Linked DNA regions of Homo sapiens: region 2 is linked to region 1. Evidence: promoter capture Hi-C in 16 types of primary human blood cells and fetal thymus (Javierre and others, 2016). All regions are on one chromosome and are shown on one strand. Each heading gives the region's core, a stretch centred on a gene start or on the middle of the fragment in contact. The rest is flanking DNA. Distances are from core to core; before and after follow the strand shown. Region 1 overlaps ZZZ3 (zinc finger ZZ-type containing 3). Region 2 holds the start of FUBP1 (far upstream element binding protein 1).

Region 1 (3,347 bases), core at 328-2,827:
ATTAAGTTATACTGTTCCACGATCTTTTTTATTTTCCACAAGGAAACACATGATGTGCACACAGACATCTTCTCTTCTCTCTCCATGCACAGGACAGTAATATAACACACAAATGGTTATGTGTTAGAGACAATTTCTAGCAAACTAGGTAAAATTCCATCCACTCAATATCAAGATATGGGTGAGTGAGAGGAACATTGGAAGGGATAATCTTCAATCAGCTTAAATTTATTTAAAAATTTTTAAAAGTAAATCATCTCCAACTTGGGTGTTTTGTTATTTGTAATCATCTACTTGAAAGGTACCTCAGACCACTGTATGATGACTATGGTTGAGAAACAGAGAGTTAATACCATAGTTAAAACTATCCAAATACTGGTTAAGGAAGCAATGCCACAGCTGCCTCCTGTAGTGCTTCACTGTTGGTAATTGATACAGAATTGTTTTAGCAGGTTCTCTTGGCTAACATAAACCCAGGCAACAATGAAATTCTGTCTAAACTTTTATCTCTTATTGAATCGCTCTCCCAAAGCCTAAAGACTCCTAATAACCAATGCCCATCATGTCAAAAAGGCAGATCTAGCTCTTTCTCAGCGTGGTGGCATTGTGACAGTCCTCAGTGTGTTCTGTGCACTTTTGGAAATCAAAGGATCTATCATTTCTAGTTTCTTTGATCATCTGGTCAACTATAGTGGCTGACAGAATGGCAAACAAGCCATGGCTGGGTTTTGCAGCAAAATTAGGAGAAGTGAAGCAAGTTTTTCTGAAAGGCCAGAGCTGCCAGTTAGGAAAATCTCTATTGGAGAAACAGGGTCACTGAAAGATCAAGAGGGAAAATCATTTAATATAGTATGGTTACTGGCTACTCTAGAGGATCAAAGGTATAACTTTGTTTTTAATTTGGTTTACCAGTCACAGCACACATCAGTACTTTCATGTGCACCCACCAACACCACCAAGTTTATGGTCTCATTATTACTTCCTCCAGTCCAACCAAGTCAATTCTAATGCCTAAAGGCTTCTCAAACTTGCCAATCTTTATTTCCATGGCCACCAGTCAAGTTCAGGACACCCTCCTCTTTTGTCTAAATTATCAAAAGAATCTCTAACCAGTTTCCTTGACTCTAGTCTTGCCTTCCTCTAATTAAGTTTCCATACTATGGCCAAAATGATGAGGGGAAAAGCTGGTCAGTTCCAAACCCACTGCTTTCCTAAAGATCATCACCCCCAATAGTTTAAGTAACTAGAATGATTCTTTCCAAAACGTAAATGTCATGTTACTTTCTGCTTAAAATCATTCAATGGTTCCCCCCACCAACCTCTCAGGATAGTGTGAGCTCCTTGGCAAAATTTATAAGGCGGTGCAAGCAGCCTCTAACTACTCTCTAGTATGTACTCTAGCCACGCTCAACTATTTTGTTTAACTTCTCTAAATTCCTTATGAGAATGAAAACAGAGTAAGGGCAAGAACTGAGTCTGTCTTGTTTACTGCTGAATCTCTAGCACTTAGCAAAGTGACTGGAACATAATGTGTATTACAAAATTCTGCAGAATGAGTATATGCATTTCTATTAGCCTCTCAATCAGAAAGGGAAAAAAACCCATTTCTGACCCATGAACAACAGCAACAAAAAGAGAAACGGCTAAACAAAAGCCCCTCACATTTTACCTCAATTGATAGCTACCTGTATGTCTGTCTTCACTCTACTAAATAATAAACTCTTCACATCAGGAACGATGGCACCACTGCTTTGCATAAATGAATGGGATAAAAGATAACTTTTTCCTACATGCTTAGCAATTCTGGAGTTTAACACTACAGAAACCACTTTAAAGTATCTCTTATCACCCTTTTAAAATTAAATGAATACTGCAGCCTGGCCAACATGGTGAAACCCCCATCTCTATTAAAAATACAAAAATTAGCTGGGTATAGTGGCACACACCTGTAATCCCAGCTACTTGGGTGGCTGAGACACGAGAATCGCTTGAACCCGGGAGGCAGAGGTTGCAGTAAGCTGAGATCACGCCACTGCACTCCAGCCTGGGCAACAGAGTGAGACTCTGTCTCTAAATAAATAAATAAATAAAATGAAATGAATCCTAAAATTAAATAGAACTTACCTTAAAGCCCACATGTTGCACAAATCCACTTTCAGCTTGCATTTGCTGAAGTTTCTGCTTCTTTAACTTTTTAAACTGTAATAGTTCTTTATATTCAGGTAAATTCCTATACATGATAGGAATACTTTCGTCATCCTATCAAAAAAAAAAAAAAAAAAAAATGTTGGTTTGGTAATTAAAATGAATTAAGTGTAAGTAATACTGATACAGAATATTTTTCTACTGATATTTTTCATTTTTAAAATATCTCTTAGTACTCATAGAAAATTAGTGCTGTTATTAGCAGTATTTTCCACTAATGCTTTTGGACTTTTTTTTTTTTTTTTTTTTAACACAACAGTAATTCTGAATTGTAGCAGACTACTTCAATGCAGGTAAAAGGGAAGCACGGCCATGATTACCACCTCTGTCACACACTATTGCAAACCCAATCCCATCTTTATATTTTCACGGTTACTTGAGTGACTTGTAATCTACTTCTCCCTCATTTAAGGAAGTTCCTCTTCTCCAATCTAACAGATTTTTACATTTGCTCCTGTAAACATGACACTTTCTTAATAACAAGCAAACCAACCTCTGCTCTTGTTTTTTGCTCTGTACTCCCAATGATCAAAGTAGAACATTTCTCTCCTACTCAACAAGATGAACTGAGTTACAAAGACGACTATTTAGAATGGACTGTAAGAGACATAAACAGTAAAAACTATATAAATGTATTAAGTAGGCTAGGTGCAGTGGCTTATACCTGTAATCCCAGCACTTTGGGAGGCCGAGGTGGACGGATCACTTTAGGTCAGGAGTTCAAGACCAGCCTAGCCAACATGGCAAAAGCCTGTCTCTACTAAAAATACAAAAATTAGTTGGGCATGGTGGCACGCACCTGTAATACCAGCTACTCGGGAAGCTGAGGCAGGAGAATTGCTTGCACCTGGGAGGCGGAGGTTGCAGTGAGCCAAGACTGTGCCACTGCACTCCAGCCTGGGAGACAGAGTGAGACTCCGTCTCAAAATTAAAAAATAAAATAAATGTATTAAGTTGAAGTATCCCTTAATAAACTGGCCTTCAAGGTATAAAGTCTATTTATGATTCCGAACTTTTAGATACATATGTTCGGGACCATCCCCCACCTCCCAAATTGACAAGTAGCTTTCTACTCAAAGTATTAACATGCAAAATTTGTCTATTTAAAATTGCTGACAACACTGTGGTTCATCATCCTAGAC
Region 2 (3,339 bases), core at 409-2,908, 410 kb after region 1:
TACTCGGGAGGCTGAGGCAGGAGAATTGCTTGAAGCCGGGAGGCAGAGGTTGCAGTGGGACGAGATCGCACCACTGCACTCCAGTCTGGGCGACAGAGGGAGACTCCGTCTCAAACAAAACAAAACAAAACTCCAGTATCTACCTACAGTGTGCGATACCAATTAATCCAATGTGCTGGTTCTGGTAAAATAAAATAGTTGGTTCCAGTAAATAAAATAGTTCCCTTAAGTTTTACAAATCAATCTAATAAAACACGCTAAGAGTGTTTGTCATAGTTATATGCTTGTTGCTAAACATGTTCAGAATTTCTTAAATTACGTGGAAAAAACCGCAGAACTAATATTAATGATGACCTTTTGTTGACTACTCCTAGTATTTCTGGTTATAAAAAAGTACAGGTACATGTTTATAATGCGTTCACATTAGATGTGTTACAACGGATTTTATGAATTCTAATTTTGACTCAATGTTCCTTCAACTGTCCCGGTAAAAAGTTAACTAAGTGAACTCCTAATGCAACGAAAACACAGCACAACACTGGTTTCTAATTATCATTAGCTTAAAACTAGTAAAAAATGCCCAGCACCTAGTACAATATGCATAGTGTCACAGAGAATAGGATTCTTTTGCTTACATGCAAATCTATACCAACACCATACATTTTGAAATGTTAAATATATTAGGGGACTATCTAAGAATGTAAAGTTCAAATTAAGGTATCTTTTATTTTCCTGGAATACACGCACTATTTTAACAGCTTTCGTCTGGGAAAGTGGTGCCTTCAGGGCAAATGCACGCACTACGTAATACAAAGAGGTCTGGTCAGTTTACGACTCTGAACTGAGAGGCAGATTCAAATTGAAACCTCTGGTATAATGGGCCTGAGGCCATTTTGAGAAATAAGGGGGGCGGACTGGTGGAACAGACTGACACGTAAATCCCGCCCAGAAAAAGGCTGCTTTCAAGTCCCTTCCTTGTAGAGGTGTGACGGTGAATGGTACTGAAAGCGGTTTTAATTGCGAGAGAGAACGGAAATGAGCTGTAAAGGCTACTTTAATGATAAATCCCTTCCCTTGCTATGGCTCCAGGACAGACCCTAGTTCTTTCCCAAACTCATTACCAGAACCTTCCATTAAATTGTGTGAAACTAACTGCGCTTTATCCCCTGGAAGAGGATCTTTATCTAAACTAGCTCACTGGAGACACGCGAGTGCCGCAGAAGCGGGAGAAAGACTTCAGGCCTTCTTTGCGTAGCACGCGTCGGGGTTCTAAGTGGATTAGGCACCAAGAACACAAAACTGGGTTCTGGTCTCTAATCGTTATTACCAACATGGGGAAACGTGTCTCTTCACATTTCAGCCCGGAAGAACACCTCTTTCCTCTTCCTCATGCGCTTAAGGGTAGCGGCCTACTCAGTCAGCGGCCAATTACCGTGAGCTTTCGGGATTCCGCCGCGCGGTCCACACTTACCTGCCGGGCTCTCTGCAGTGCATCTTTGAAAGCGTCGTTAACTCCTCCACCACCACCGCCGCCACCACCGCCACCAGCTGAGCCAGAAGAGGGGGGAGGCACTGTTGAATAGTCTGCCATGGTTGCACTATAAGAGCCGCTGCCGCCTGTTCAGAGACTTCCTCTCAGCTAACAGCTAAGAAAGAAAGAAAATGGCGGCCGTCGAAGCTCTATTACATTCTTGCGCGACCATCGTGCCGTAAAGGGGCGGAGACTGAAGGAACAAAATCTCGCGATGTTTCCGAGGCAACGCGCTGGTGTGGGTTAGGGCTGAGAAAGAACGACAGGAACAGAGACGTCGCGAGGATTAAGTTTAAGACTTCGCGAGAACAGAATTTCTTTTGGCACCTCCTCTCCGCGCGTTCTTGGGGTGAGGCTGGGTAATTGTTCCTGCAGGGTGGTGGGTGATAGTGGCCAGTTGACTGCGACTGTGTTTGGGTGGTGGGAAGCCTGAAGAAAAGGTTGTTTCTTACCGGTCGCTGCCTCAGGGAGGTAGTGCGGTAGAATTTTCCGCTATGGGTCATTCTCGGTGTCCGCGGGGAAGGGCGTGACAACGACGGGCGTGACGGCGAAGCAACAGTGTCTCGAGAGCGCTGCCGCCCGGAGGGCGCCAGGAGAAGTGCGTCCGAGACGCCGCGCGGTGATGCTCCTGAAAACGTCTGCCCGGCGTAGCGGGAACCCAGCATGATTTTCAGGGTAGTAAAGTGTCCCTGTATTTTACTTACAGACTGTCCGATTTTTTAGTTTTATCACGAGGGTGGGTGTTGAATTCAGGCTGGAAGCCTGTTAGTTCTCGACCATATTTTAAGTTTTTTGTTTAAAATAATGTGGATGAGGCTCTAAAAGTATGACTGCCCTTTTCTTTATCCAAAAACGTGATTGTTCTTAAAGTTCAGTGTTAGCCAGATTTAATAACCTAGTATATGTATGTGTCCATGGCCATTTTTATTAAGGGTTTTTTTTTGTTTGTTTGTTTGTTTTGAGAGTCTCGCTCTGTTACCCAGGCTGGAGTGCAGTGGCGCGGTCTCGGCTCACTGCATCCTCCGCCTCCTGGGTTCAAGCGATTCTCCTGCCTCAGCCTCCCGAGTAGCTGGGACAACAGGCGCCTGCCACCACGTCTGGGCTAATTTTTTGCGTTTGTAGTAGAGACGGGGTTTCACCGTGTTAGCCAGGATGGTCTCGATCTCGTGACCTCGTGATCCACCCGCCTCGGCCTCCCAGAATGCTAGGATTATAGGCGCGAGGCACTGCGCCCGGCCTGTTAAGGTCTCTTAAGTTAAGAACAGCATTGTTTCTTGACCAAAATAGATTTTGTAGCTTCTTAGGCGTAGTTTCTCCCACCCCATCCTGTGGGTACTCAAATGTAAGATCATATTCTGAATTGTCATCACAGGACTAGGTATATATATATATATATGTGTGTGTGTGTGTGTGTGTGTGTGTGTGTGTGTAAATTGGTATTTTATGTTATGTACTTCAGTTACCAAGTAATGCCAGACATTTCTTCAGACCTTCTCCAACATATCGTGGCATGTAATTTACTGTGTTAATAGTAGTAAGCTCCAGGAATCGTGAGGATACTTTAGAAGTCTTACTCTTTATTATTGAGTATATCACAGTGACTTTTTTTTTCCAAAATTATTTGTTTAAATAACAAACAATGAGGTAAAATGAACTTTCTCGACTTTGTGGCATTTTGTCTTACTTGGTTAGGTCTAAAAAAATACTTTTTCAGCAGCTCTTAAGAGTAATTGTGAGAAATATATATATGCTGCATTCTTTCTGAAAACCTAAAAGTAATGTGTTCATTTGCTTAAGCACCAAAATAG

Evidence for each region. The method cuts DNA at HindIII sites, captures the fragments that hold promoters and counts their contacts. A CHiCAGO score of 5 or more calls a contact.
Region 2: a contact is called between the fragment with the promoter of FUBP1 here and a fragment that was not itself captured in region 1, in 1 of 17 cell types (total CD4 T cells). The highest score is 5.7, in total CD4 T cells.

What each region holds. Positions count from the first base shown.
Region 1 is chr1:77,566,208-77,569,554 of GRCh38, forward strand. It overlaps ZZZ3 (zinc finger ZZ-type containing 3), which reads right to left. Exons shown (of 15, transcript NM_015534.6): 13 at 2,125-2,259. Among named protein-coding and RNA genes, the nearest start is that of ZZZ3, 110 kb to the right of the region's middle. The HindIII fragment of the contact is 3,871 bases long and covers 1-3,347 here.
Region 2 is chr1:77,977,414-77,980,752 of GRCh38, forward strand. FUBP1 (far upstream element binding protein 1) reads right to left here and starts at 1,659. Exons shown (of 20, transcript NM_003902.5): 1 at 1,472-1,659. The coding sequence starts at 1,591. It also overlaps a transcript of DNAJB4 not described here. RefSeq lists enhancers at 1,223-1,272, 1,343-1,392, 1,403-1,462, 1,473-1,602, 1,913-2,062 and 1 more. The HindIII fragment of the contact is 9,300 bases long and covers 1-3,339 here.